Regions from separate parts of the Homo sapiens genome. Here region 2 is linked to region 1. Evidence: promoter capture Hi-C in human tissues and cell types (Jung and others, 2019). All regions are on one chromosome and are shown on one strand. The core of a region is centred on a gene start or on the middle of the fragment in contact, and the rest is flanking DNA. Distances in the headings are between cores, read along the strand shown. Region 1 holds the start of KIF13B (kinesin family member 13B). Region 2 overlaps LINC02099 (long intergenic non-protein coding RNA 2099).

The links. The method cuts DNA at HindIII sites, captures the fragments that hold promoters and counts their contacts. A contact is called where the count stands out against the background at its distance.
Region 2: a contact is called between a fragment that was not itself captured here and the fragment with the promoter of KIF13B in region 1, in 1 of the 25 tissues and cell types used here (lymphoblastoid cells).

What each region holds. Positions count from the first base shown.
Region 1 is chr8:29,261,331-29,268,245 of GRCh38, forward strand. KIF13B (kinesin family member 13B) reads right to left here and starts at 1,740. Exons shown (of 40, transcript NM_015254.4): 1 at 1,650-1,740. The coding sequence starts at 1,704. RefSeq lists a silencer at 1,118-1,947. The HindIII fragment of the contact is 11,996 bases long and covers 1-6,915 here.
Region 2 is chr8:29,782,930-29,790,176 of GRCh38, forward strand. All of the region lies in intron 1 of LINC02099 (long intergenic non-protein coding RNA 2099), which reads left to right. Among named protein-coding and RNA genes, the nearest start is that of LINC02099, 38 kb to the left of the region's middle. The HindIII fragment of the contact is 4,550 bases long and covers 1-3,630 here.

The DNA of each region.
Region 1 (6,915 bases), core at 490-2,989:
AAGCATAAGAATTTCCCTCAAAAAGTGAAACCAATGGGGAAAGGGAGAGGGAAAGGGCTCTAAATATCTGAGATGTCTTTTGTGGTGGTTGGTTAGCGGCCTCTTTTTAGCACTGACATTTCCAAGTTTTTTGTGAAAAGGAAATTTTAAGAATGTGCTGAAACCATCCTTTCAGAATCAATTCCCAGATAAGTTATGTTTCATTTGGCTTCTTTCTTTAAATTATTGTGATGGTAAACTGGAAGTAAACTGAAATACAGATACCTGAATATTTAAAAACTGATGCTTCTGAAAATTTTCAGAATTGTATCGACGTTTATTGTGTGTTGTCAGAGCACGAGATTAGTGAAGCAAAGCAGGACTCAATCTTGCACTAGTTGAGAACTTAAAGTAATTAAGTTCTTAGGGAAAAAAACTCACCTGACAGCTTTAATCGGACCTAGCAGGAACAGGACAAAACAATTCCCATAGATGAGATAACTCCAAGCGAGAAACCAATTTCCCCGAGAAGGACAAACCAACAAAGCTTATGTCAACTGGTTGATCTGTATGTCTCAATATATACAAAAGAAAGCAAAGAAGAGGAAAACAACCTATAATTTCTACATAAAAATTAAACAACACTTGATTTTGCTAAGAAGCTACAACTTTGTCTCTGGTACTTAAATGATTCTAATTAGTTCAAAGTCTCATCAATGGCAAAGTCATCTCCTGAGACAGTAATAGTGACCCCCAATGACAGGACCTTGTATATAAAGCGTTTTCAAACACATTATCTTATTTAAAGCAACTCACCCAGTCATGCTGCTTTGACTATCAAAGCCAAGACCCAGCCCACCTCCTCCCCTGACTTTTGGGGTTCTCTCCACTCCCCGGGTCTACAGATTATTTAAATGTACTCGGTTTATCTGCCTTCTCTACACTCCCTGCAGAGTTAAGAGAATGTCAGAAAGATACAATTCCACAAGAATCTTGGCACTTTAGCTATTTATTGAGAGATGATGAATGAGACTTCAGGCAAAACCAAAACTTTCTCAACTGTCCAAAAACAACGAAAAGGGCATCTCCTCCACCTGACCCCAATCTCAGGACGCCCAGGTGGAAGGAACTCGCCGCGGGGCACCCGCCTGGCCCCCTGCCCTTCTTCCCGCCGCGGGCCAAGGCGGTGCAGGCTTGGGCGACCCGGGCGAGACGCGGGGTCCCGGGGGGTCCCGGGCGGTCCCGAGGCGGGCTGCAGGGGCTGGCGACCCGCGCGCGGGGGCGACGATGACAGCTGGCGGGGAAGGAGCGAGGCTGAGGGGCCAGGACGAGGCTGGGCGCGAGGGCCGAGGGCGCCCTCGGGAACCTCCGGGGGAGACGAGAGGGCAAAAGGGCGCAGGGGCGGGGCGGGCGCAGGCGGAAGGGGCAGCGGGGCCGGCACGAGGGGCCCGACGGCGCCAGGGACGGGGCTGGCCAGGGGGGAAGGGAGGGGAGAAGAGGGAGCCGGGCGTCTCAGCGCGGGAGCGGGTTTCAGGGTCCCCGGGCCCCTCCTCGCGCCCCGCCGCTGACTATAGGGGCGGGGCCGCCGGACCCCCCACGGCGGCCGAGGGAAGGGCGCGCCAGGCACCTGCCGCCTCCGCCCCGGCGGCCCAGGAGGGCTCGGCTCTCACCTCGCCGGTTCATGGGTCGTATCCGCACCGCCACTTTCACTTTGGAGTCCCCCATCCTGCAGCCGCCGAGGAACTCGTTCGGCTTCCGTCTGCCGCGGCCACCGGCGACTCTTCGGGGTTGACCCGGCGGGAGGGGGCCGGGGGCGGAGCCGGGGGTGGGGACCGGGCTGGGGGCGGGGCCGGCGCGAGCTCCGGGCGCTCCCCGCTGTATGGCGGGACTTGTAGTTCCCCAGGGTCGTCGTGGGCGGGGCCGCAGCGAAGGCGGGGGCGGGAATGCTCGGGCGCGAGTCGTTTGCTACAACTTACCTACAGCAATGACGGCTTTTGTAAATTACACACCATTCTTGCTCTCGCAGCCAGTATTGAGAAGTAAGCCTTCAAGAGCTGATACCTCTTCTGAAAAACAATTGAATAGATGGCGTCAGGGACCCCGCTACCTCTTCCTGCTCATTTCCTGCCAATCTTAGTGTTTGATCCCTGGCTCAAGTTATTTCCTCTGCCTGGATTGACGTCCGGCCTTGTTTGCTGAGCTCGTCCTTCACGACAAGTTGCAAATCACGTTTTCTGGGAGTGTCCATAGGTCCACGGGTTAACATTGTCCTGTGAGTCCCCCTCCTTTGAGACAGGACCTTGGGCTCTGAAAACCATCTGAGTTCAAAGCCCACCTCAGCGCTTCCCACTGTGTGACCAGGGGCAAGTTATTTGACCGCTCTGGGCTTGTCTTTAATATGAAAAGTGGATATGATACTAATACCTAGTAAAATAGGTACATTTTTAAATAAGATTAACATATGTGTAACCTAGCCTTTAGTAGAGACCCATAAACATTAATTGCATGAATTAATGAATGAGGCCACACTAAAATTAGCTTTTTATTAGCCCTGGCAGACATTCTAACAGGTGGCCTGGGTGCCAGAGCCAGCACGCAAACATGTTCTGTTTGGCCCAACAGTGTTGGCCAACACATAAAAATCAGATTTGTGGCCAGGTGCAGGGGCTCACACCTGGAATCCCAGCATTTTAGGATGCTGAGGCAGGAGGATTGCTTGAGGCCAGGAGTTTGAGACCAGCTTGGGTAACAGAGTGTGAAATCAGATTTGTGCATGCAGTACTGGGCCTACATTACATATTGGACAGAGTGGATTGGAACTAAATAGCAGCAGCCACCTTTATCAGAGACCCGTCTCTCCACTTCACCACGGCCCCCCTCCAGGTGGCTTTACCACACATGCGCCTGGACCTTGTGGGTTTGTGACCCCTGCTTAGATGTGTTTAAATGATAGTAATAGAACTCAGAACCATTTTACAGATGAGTAAATACAGAAAGCTGGTAAGACTTGCCCTTTTACCAACCATCCTGTTATTGAGTATCTTCAATACAAGCAATGTTGTCAAAAAGTATAAAAATACTTTTTTTTTTTTGAGATGGATCTAGCTCTGTCACCCAGGCTGGAGTACAGTGGCATGATCTCGGCTCACTGCAACCTCCACCTCCTGGCTTCAAGCGACTCTCATGCCTCAACCTCGACAGTAGCTGGGATTACAGGCATGTGCCACCAATCCTGGCTAATTTTCATATTTTTAGTAGAGACGTAGTTTTGCCATGTTGACCAGGCTGGTCTCGAACTCCTGACCTCAGGTGATCCACCCACCTCAGTCTCCCAAAGTGCTGGGATTACAGGCATAAGCCACTGTGTCCGGTCTAAAAATACCTTTAAAAGAAAGGAAATTCTGAAACATGCTGCAACATGGATGATGGGCCTTGAAAACATTATGCTAGGTGAAATAAGCCAGACACAAAAGAACAACCACTGCATGGTTCTACATATATGAGATACACATGGTAGTCAAATTCATGGAGATAGAAAGTAGACTGGAGGTTACTAAGGGCTAGGAGAAGGGGGTATGAGGAGTTAGTATTCAATGGGTGCAGAGATTCGGCTTGGGAAGATTTCAGCTGCGGAAATGAATGGTGGTGATGGTTGCACAACAATGTAAATGTACTTAACGCCACCTAACCACTTAAGAGTGGTTAAGGCAGTAAGGTTTTTTGGGTTTTTTTAGAGACAGGATCTCGCTCTGTTTGCCCAGACTGGAGTGCAGTGGTGTGATCATAGCTCACTGCAGCCTCAAACTCCTGGGCTCAAGCGATTTTCCTGCTTCAGCCTCTCACCTAGATGGAATTACAGGTACGCACCACGACACCTAGCTAATTTTTATATTTCATTTTTTGGTAGAGATGGAGTCTCGCTATGTTGTCCAGGCTGGTCTTGAACTCTTGGCCTCAAGTAATCCTCCTCACTTCAGCCTCCCAAAGCACTAGGATTACAGGTGTGAGCCATTACACCCAGCCAAGATGGTAAGCTTTTTGTTGTTGTTTGTTTGTTTGTTTGAGATGGAGTCTTGCTCTGTCGCCCAGGCTGGAATGCAGTGAGTGACATGATCTCTGCTCACTGCAGTCTCTGCCTCCTGGGTTCAAGTGATTCTCCTGCCTCAGCCTCCAGAGTGACTGGGATTACAGGTGTGCACCATCACACACAGCTAATTTTTATATTTTTAATAGAGATGGGGATTCACCATGTTGGCCAGGCTGGTCTCAAACTCTTGACCTCAAGTGATCCACCCACCTCAGCCCCCCCAAAATGCTGGGATTACAGGTGTGAGCCACTGTGCCTGGCCAATAGTAAGTTTTATGTTACGTGTTTTTTATCAAAATTTCAAAAAAGGTTAAAAATAGAAAATGCTACCCCAGAAGGCCCTCTTTTTTAAAAAAGGAAATTTCTTTCTTAGGGGCACTGCCTCTGCACTTCAGGAGGTCTCATCTAGACCAGCAGTGGGTTTAGTGCAGCAGGTCCTTTGATTTTCACAGCCCAATAAAGTAAACAACATCAGGATAACCAAATTAGGATTGCCAATCTCAGTGTTTGACACTATGACAGCTTCTTAATTTTAGCAAGTATATATTTTTTTGAGACAGGGTCTCATTCTGTGCCCAGGCTGGAGTGCAGTGGCACCATCTTAGCTCACTGCAGCCTCAACCTCCCAGGCTCAAGCGATCCTCCCACCTTAGCCTCCCAAGTAGCTGGGACTACAAGCATGCACCACCATGCCCAGCTGATTTTTAAATTTTTTGTAGAAACAGTGTCTCGCTATGTTACCCACTCTGGTCTTGAACCCATGACCTCAAGTGATCCTCCCACCTCAGCCTCCCAAAGTGTTGGAATTACAGGTGTGAGCCATTGTGCTAGGTCACCGAGTAAATTATTTGAAAAAGAATGCACACAAAAATTACTATCTACCATCACTATCTTTTTTTTTTTTTAAAAAAGATCATAAAGGGTATGATTTTATATTGAAATTGTTTTGCCCTACTGTTCTTTTGCTCTTATTTAGTGTTGAAGTCACCTTTGCCATGGCCCCAGACTGGTTACCACAGGTTGGTACTCTTGTCTTAAACACACATCCTAATTACCACCTCCCTACATTCAGGTTATAAAAAATAAGGATTTGGAATGTCCCAAGATTCCATACGTCACTTTATATCTCTTTTATAACCAGGTAAATTTAATTTTTAAATGGCACGTCCTGGTGCTAGCTTGAATCTGGCTTTTTAAACAGAGTCAAAGCAGGCAGAAAAAGAGAACAAGAGAACATTTCTATGGAAATATTGTGTTTAAACTTAAGCTGAAACTGAAAAGAGAGGAAAGCCCCTAAGGACCTCAAGGAAGGGAAGAATAGAATAGAGAAGAAGTGAGGACTTTCTCTAAAGTCCTCAAAACCATTTAAAATGTTCTGAAAATATTTAGAGGAAAAGGACAGTAGCCTCCCTAGGGACTGCAGGGAAGAACCCCTGTGAGCTGTTTCCCCTTTTGACTTCTGTTCATACTACTCTGTCTCCTTTGACTTTTGCAGTGAAGATGATTCTTAAAAGAGAGCCCAGCCAGGCGCGGTGGCTCACGCCTGTAATCCCAGCACTTTGGGAGGCCGAGGCGGGTGGATCACAAGGTCAGGAGATGGAGACCATCCTGGCTAACACAGCGAAACCCCGTTTCTACTAAAAATACAAAAAAAATTTGCTGGGCGTGGTGGCGGGCACCTGTAGTCCCAGCTACTCCGGAGACTGATGCAGGAGAATGGCGTGAACCTGGGAGGCAGAGCTTGCAGTGAGCTGAGATCGCGCCACTGCATTACAGCCTGGGCGACAAAGTGAGACTCCGTCTTCTAAAAAAGAAAAGAAAAGAAAAAGAAAAAAAGAGAGAGAGCCCAAGACTAGAAATGCCCATATCTTCCCATGGAAAGTGTTCCTCTGATAGGCGGGAGACAGAGGACCAAATTGCAAGTTACAACCTGCAGCCTGGGAGTTTCAGGGGCTTCAACACCAAATGAAATTGGAGAACTATCAACAGGATTCAGGGTTCAGCACAGGCTCCAGCAAGACAGAGAGAAAAGTCCTGGTTTTTCTCTCTCTCTTTTTTCTCTTTTTTTTTTTTTTTTCCGAGACAGGGTCTCGCCCTGTCGCCCAGGCTGGAATGCAGTGGCACAGTCTCGGCTCACTGCAACCTCCTCCTCCTGGGCTCAAGTGATTCTTCTGCCTCAGCCTCCCGAGTAGCTGGGATCACAGGCGCCCACGACCATGCCCGGCTAATTTTTGTAGTTCTAGTGGAGACGGGGTTTCGCCATGTTGGTCAGGCTGGTCTCAAACTCGCCACCTCAGGTGATCCGCCCACCTCGGTTTCCCAGGGTACTGGGATGACAGGTGTGATCCACTGCACCTGGCCAGTTTCTCTCTTTTCAACTATTAGAGGAAAAAGAAACAAAGAACTAGTAAATAAGGCATTCCCTTGTACCTGTTTCTTAAAGCAAGTACTTAGGAAATCAACAAGTATTTATGGTGTAGATTCTATAGCCATTTTGATAGAGCTGTTGAATTTTAGCTGTGCAGATAAGGAGTTTCTCATTTTTTGCCCTCACATTTTGCAAATCTGCTCATTCCTAAACTGATTTCTAGTTTTCTTTTTATGGCTTTGATCTACCCATTCAGTAGTTTCTGATGGTCCCTTCATAGGCTATAGAAGTCACTTTGTCCTATCTTTTTTTTTTTGAGATGGAGTCTTGCTGTGTCACGATTTCCCTGCTTGCCTGAGACCTACCTTTGTGAGAGCACTTAGTTTTCCCAATTATAAGCATACCTTCATCTGCCTCCCCAGCTACGCTGTGCTACTGTGTGCTCTTTGAGCCTGGATAAAGTGTCTTTTGTTTTTGAGAC
Region 2 (7,247 bases), core at 106-2,605, 520 kb after region 1:
GACGCAATCCCTCTCGCATGACCCCAACTCCCTGCCGCCACCAACCCACAGGTACTGATTACCTGATCCAGCTGACCAGTAGAAAACTCAACCTCAGGGCTCTGAATCCCGGGGAAACTCAGCCCACGAGGCTCCACACTCAGGCTGGTCCTGGCCCCATTCATAAAACATCAGTGTATCCTATTGGTCTCTTGTTGGATGTCTGGATTTTTAAGAGCTTCTAGTGAGAGGAGAGGACATGGGACACAGTTATTTAGTAACCCTCATCCCCACCATGGGGTGCTTAACAGTCAGACCACTCAGCATCCCCAAAAGATACTGCATCATTTATTCAATACTTGTTCATCAAGGATTTATAGCTTCCAAAAGCCTCTTTTATCCACTCACTTTCTCTTTATTCCCACAGTCATTTCCCTCATTCAGGGAAAAGAAACAAAATGGCCCTAATATTTCTTAGTGTTCGGCCCTGTGTTTTGTGTGCTGCATGTATATTTTCTTGTAAGTTCCTGCTAGATTTCTGAAGCAACTTTCTTTTGTTTTTCTCTCTCACTCTGTCGCCCAGGCTAGAGTGCAGTGGTGTGATCTCAGCTCACTGCAACCTCCACCCCCTGGATTCAAGCGACTCTCCTGCCTCAGCCTCCCAAGTAGCTGGGATTACAGGCACCTGCCACCACAGCCAATTAACTGTTGTATTTTTAGTAGAGGCAGGGTTTCACCATATTGGCCAGGCTGGCCTCAAACTCCTCACCTCAAGTGATCTGCCCACCTCGGCCTCCCAAAGTGCTGGGATCACAGGTCTGAAACAACTTTCTAAATGTACTTCCAGCCTCCACGTGCAACCTTCTTCATCCATACCCCACACAGATGCCAGAGGATCCTTCTAACATATGCTTTTCTCTTGGAAATACTGACAGTTCCTTACTGTCTTCTGGATAAAACTGAAGAGATATAGCCCTCAGTGCTTGCTCTGGCCTCAGCATCTTCTCCAATTGCCCCCTACAAAGGTCCCATAAAGGAACTTTGTCACTCACTCTTACTCAGAATATATTTCCATGCACCATGGGCTTTGCCCACACTAGACCACTTGTTTAAATTGTCTCCACACCTGTCTCATTTGGCAAACTCTTCTCTGTTTATCAAGCTTAAATATCATCTCATCTTTCTATCCTTCTCAGGCCTTTGTCTCTTCTTATAACACTTTATATAAGCTTCGCTTATAGCACAGCTCACATTGCATTATAGATCTGTGATGTGTTACTCAGGGTAAACCAACTGCTATGTCAAACAACTCAAAAATTTTCATGGCTTGACACCACAAAGGTCTATTTCTTGCTCAGGCAGCAGTCTAATGGGAAAGTTCCTCCTGGAGGCTCACCACCAAGTGTTGACTCAGGGATCCAGGCTGATTCCATCTTATCACTCTGTTATATCTTAAGACCCTGGAGTCCTTTACTCCCAAACACATAAACAGCAAAAAAAGAATACGGAGGATAGAGCAGATTTTAAGGGTCCAGGCCTGGCCCAATCTCCAGCCATTGCTCTAAGACAACAAATCTTCACTCATATCCCCTGACTGTACTTCTCACAGGACTCTCAGTCTACCATACCACTGATTTGGGCCCTATAAATATCTTCAAGAGAACAAAAAACAAATAGCAATTATCTAGCCAACGATAACTTTATTTTCCAACAGACCTGCTCCTTCAAGAAAGGCCATAGTAAGGTTTTGGGTATCAGCAGGGCTTTTCACGTTAGGGAGCCATTGGTATGAGACAACTGACATGTGTCCACAGCTTCCATTTTCATCTGTTAATATTCAATTACTCACCATTGTGGCAGTCTGGGAAATTAAGTTAACAGAGAAATCTAAAGGGCTTATCATATTTACCATTAAACATATGGAATCAGTCACATTGTGAGAGCTTCTAAGACTCTAAGGGATTCCTGATCACCTCCTTCAACTCTGTGGCATATTTGTTGAAGGATAATCCTCTCTAGTGTACCTAGTGATCATTTAGAAAACAAACAAAAAACAGGTTTTTCTCCTCTTTCACATCAGCCTTAGGATTATAAAAACAATATAGGTCTTAAGGGTAAATAAATACGTTACTAGCCAATACATACATGGGAGATTTGATATTATCTCCTAAACCAAGATCACAAGAGAACATAGATAAGGACTTTCTATTGTTGACCAGATTTGGAAAAGGGGAATATCCCTTCTAATACAAACAAAAATAAACCAAAAATCTTCTTGAGGTGTGAGGGAGGACACATCTTTAACAGGAAAATAGTTTTTAAAATAATTGCCATTTGGCGCTTAGTGAATTTAAGGAATAATTTAAGCTTGGATTTCCAAAGCTCTTCTATCCCTCATGAGCCCGGGTTATAGTCCATAGAATTGATTAAGGAAACTGAGGCAGGGAAGGGTTAGGTGATTTAGCAGTGGTCATACTGCAAATCACAGGTTTTTCTGGGACCTGTTCTTGCACCCAGCCTGGGGCACATTTCATGAGCAGATGCACAAAGGAAGACCATAAGTACCACTTTAGTTCCATTTGCTTTCCTCCTGTTCATTCTTCATCTCACTCCCAATAGACTTCCCCTCACAGCTATCCACTGATGTAGCTAAGCCTCTTCAATGATCTTCACACCATTAAGTCCAATGTATCTTTTCTAGTCCTCACCTTACAGAATCTCTAAGCAGGATTTGACTTAGAAGACCACTGCTTTCTTCTTCAACACAATCTTTTTCCCTTGGTCACCATCACATCACACCTCATGGTTTCTACTCTCTGGCTGCGCCTTCTCTGTGTCCTTCACCTACTCATCCTCTCAGTTTAGGCCATCAAGACTTATAATACCAAAGACTCCACACTGGGCCCTCTTATCTTCTCTCTCTGTACTTTCTGTCCATCTTGTCCATGTTTATGGCTTCAATAGCCAGTCATTCATAAATCCCAAATTTATATCTCCAGCTAACACCATCTTCTGAGTTCCGGTCCTGTACTGTATCTCCATTTCTACTTACAGATGCCTCAAATTTACCTTGCAGTCTAAGCCCAAGCATTCTCTCCCTGCATTAGAGCCACTCCCCTTCCAATGTCTATCCCAATGAATGGCACTGCCGTCAATTCAGTAGTGCAATTTAAGAGACCTGGAGTCATTCTTGGTGCTTTCCTCTCCCTCCCTCTCCAGATTTTATGCATTACCGAATCCAGTCCACTTAACCTCTAAATACCTCTCAAATATATCCATTTCTCTTCTTCCCTATTCCCATATCACAAAGTCAAACCACCATTGTGTCCTGCGTAGGCTACTTCAACAAGCACTTAACAGATCTCCCTGCACCTGTTCTTGCCATCTTCCAGCCTATTATCCTGCAGTCAAAAAATATATATATTTTCAAAGGATTAATATGATAACTGCTCCCACCACATCTTCTCTGTGCCCCATCCAAGTCATTTAATGGTTTCTCAGTGCTCTTTGGAGAAAGATCAAATCCTTATCCTCCATAAGATATCCTGCGCCCTGCAGCTCCTACCCATCCTACATCCTCTATTCACGTCATGCTCCTACTGTTCTCTGAATTCCAACTGCACTGGTCTTCTTTCAACTCCTTGGCTATTCCAAGTTCCATCCAACTACAGGAAAGACTGAATTACAAATCCAGGGATCTCTCTTCTGTTAAATTCCCTCACAGCACCACATACTTCTTCATCATAAAACATATTAAAGCATTAATGTTACATGTATTTATATGTTTATCTGTTTGATGCCTATCTTTGCCACCAGACTATATGCTTCATGAAGATGGGACCATGCTCATTTTTGCTCACCATTATATTCATAGTACTAATCACTGTGCCTAGCACATACTAATATGCAATAAAAATGTGTCCAATGAATTATCATTCATTGTAATTGTATCAATTAGGCAATCAATAAATTATGTTTTCTTAGATTTCTTCCTGTTTTAATATTCATATATATATATAGCATATTAAATGACTGATATAGTTTAGATATTTGTCCCTGCCAAATCTCATGTTGAATCATAATCCCCAGTGCTGGAGGTGGGGCTTGGTGGGAGGTGTTCGGATCATAGGCACAGATCCCTCATGGCTTGGTGCTGTCTTTCTGTTAGTGGGTTATTGCGAGAACTGGTTGTTTAAAGATGTGGGATACCTCCCTCCCAACTCTCTCTCGCTGGTTCTTGCTTTTGTTATGTGATGTGCCTATTCCTGTTTTGCCTTCCACCATGATTAAAAACTCCCTGAGGCTTCACTAGAAGCTGAACAGATGCTGGCATCATACTTCCAATAAAGCCTGCAGAACCGTGAGCCAATTAAACCTCTTCTTTTTTAATAAATGACCCAGTCTCAGGTGTTTCTTTACAGCGATGCAGGAATGGCCTAATACAGTGACCTGTTGTCTGAAGCAGTTTTTCCTTCTTTTTGCACTCAGTTTACTCCATCCAAGATTCAAATTGTTTCCTTTTATGAAAAGAATTTCAGGACAATTTGGTGAACAAGTCTATGTTCGTATTTTTTATTCAAGATGATTGAGGATTCATCCTGATATCTAAAAAAATGACAGCACATGTGCAAAAATGAGGATGCTAGAGAAGGTAGCTGTGAAATAGGAATGCTCCCTAGCAAGGTTTGTTAGCTGAAAGTAGGAGGGTAGGGTGCCAGAGCCTGATCTGTCTTTATTCAGCAGCTTGACCATGAGGAAATCACTTCCTTCCCTGGTCCTTGGTGTGTTCATCTGGGAAATTAAAACATTGTTCTAAATAAGGAGGCCTCTGCCTTCACCACATGACATGATTTATGAGAATGGCCATCCTACTGCCTGCCATTTCCATGTGAAACCAGAATTCTCACTGTGGGGAGAAGGTCTTTCAGAGCAAAGCTTTTCCTTCTCCATGGCTATATTTTTTTCTGGTAGTTCTTAATCTGCTACTTACAATGGGAATGTACCAAGAAAAATTGCACTTAGTCTCTGTAGAGTTCACCTTTATCATTCTGCCTAATACTCAGCCTTCCATGATGAGGAGGGAGAAGACGGTGTCTCATCTGCCAATAACCCATTTCTAGAAATGATGTAAGTCAGAATAGCAGGTGCTGTATTCTGGTGTGCACTGTAAAAGGAGAGCCTCAGGGTCAGGAGCCAGGACGCGTGTCCCAGGTCCTCCACTTCCTGGCTATGAGCTTTGGACATGGCCACTCAACTTCTGTGAGTCTCAGGTCTTTAACTAATAAAATATATATCTAACTGGGTTACTTCACAGAGAGGTCATGAGAACCATATAGGACAGCATTTAAGAAAACAATCTGAAAACATTAGGATGCAGTAAACATGGGCTTTCAAATGCCCGAAAGATGTCTCAAGGAAAAAAGGCATATAGAGTCACAATAATGCCAATATCATGTAAATTACACTTCCAGCAGTCATTTGGTGCCAACTCCTAGGCGCCTCCTTCTCCACAGACCAAGGTCACAGCATTCCAAAAACCGTATCCCCCTCTAAGTGATCCTCTGAGAATTTCAGGACTATTTAGTGAAGAAATCACTGTTCACCTTGCAGGACGAGAAACGATTGAGACTGTCATATTTAGAAAAATGATAGCATCATAAACAAGTAGACATCAATAACAAATGGATAAAAGCATGTTCAAGATATTCTAATTCAAAGTATTATGTAGACTGAAAAACAATAGTATTTACCCAAGAAAATGTACTTGTTGCTGTGGTTCAGTAATAACTTTTTTTTAGCACTATCTGAGACCAATTTCTCTGAACCAGCTTGTGGTCAGTAGAATGAAAATCCTTACGTATAATGTTGATTGATTTTCAGTAATGGTGCCAAGACCATCAATGGGGAATGGACAGCATCTTCAATGAATGGTGCTGAGAAAACTGGATATCTACCTGCTAAAGAACCAACTGGGTCCTTACCTTATCTTACCTTACCTTATACTATATGTACAAATCAATTCAAATGGAATAAAGACATAAAACTATAAAGCTCCTAGAAGAAAACATAGGGCAAGAGCTTTATAACATTGCATTTGTCAATGATTTCTTGGATATGACACCAAAAGCACAAGCAACAAAAGAAAAAATAGATAAACTGAACTTCACTGAAATTGAAGACTTTGTGCCCTAAAGGACCCTTGCAAGAGAGTGAAAAGGCAACCCAAAGAATGGGAGAAAGTATTTGCAAATAACTTTATCTGGTAAGGAATTAATATCTAGAATATATAAAGAGGTCCTATAATTAAAACAAATGAGCAGCCCAGTTCAAACCTGGTCAAAGGCTCTGAATAGATATTCCTCCAAAGAAGATATACAAATGGCTAATAAGTACCAAAAGATGTGCAATGTCACTAGCCACTAGGGACATGCAAATCAAAACCACAACAAGATACGATTTCACACTTATAGGATTGCCATTACCAAAAAACAAAAAATTTAAAAAAAAAACATATTGGTAAGGATGTAAAGACATTGGAAGCTTTGTACATTTCTGATGGGAAGGTAAAATGGTGCAGTCACTGTGAAAACACTTTGGTAGTTCCCCAAAAAATTAAACAGAATTACTATATGATCCAGCAGTTTCACTCGTAGGTATATATCCAAAAGAAATGAAGAGAGAGAATCAAACAGACGCCAATATTCACAGCAGTATTATTCACCATAGCCAAAATGTGGAAACAACTCAGATGTCCACCAACAGATGACTGAATAAACAGAATATGGTATATACATAGAATGGAATATTATTCAAGCCTAAAAAGGAATAAAGTTCTGACACATGCTACTACATGAATGAACCACAAACATTATGCTAAGTGAAATAAGCCAGATATAAAAGGACAAATATTATATGAATCTACTTACATGAGGTACCTAGAACGGGCGAATCCATATAGACAGAGGGTCGAATAGAGATTACCAGGGGCTGGAGGGAGGAAGGAATGGGGGTTAATGTTCAATAGGTGCAGAGTTTCTGTTTGGGATGATTAAAAGTTCTGGAGATAGATGACTATGACGTTTGCACAAAAATGTAAATGTACTCAATGTCATTGAATTGTACACTTAAAAGTGTTTAAAATGGTAAATGTTATGTATATTTTACCACAAGAAATAAAATATAGACTGGAGGTCCTCATGTCATGGAAAATTGTTTTTCTGTCACTTAGTATGTAAAGTGGATGTGTTCTATTTACTGAAGAGTCTTCG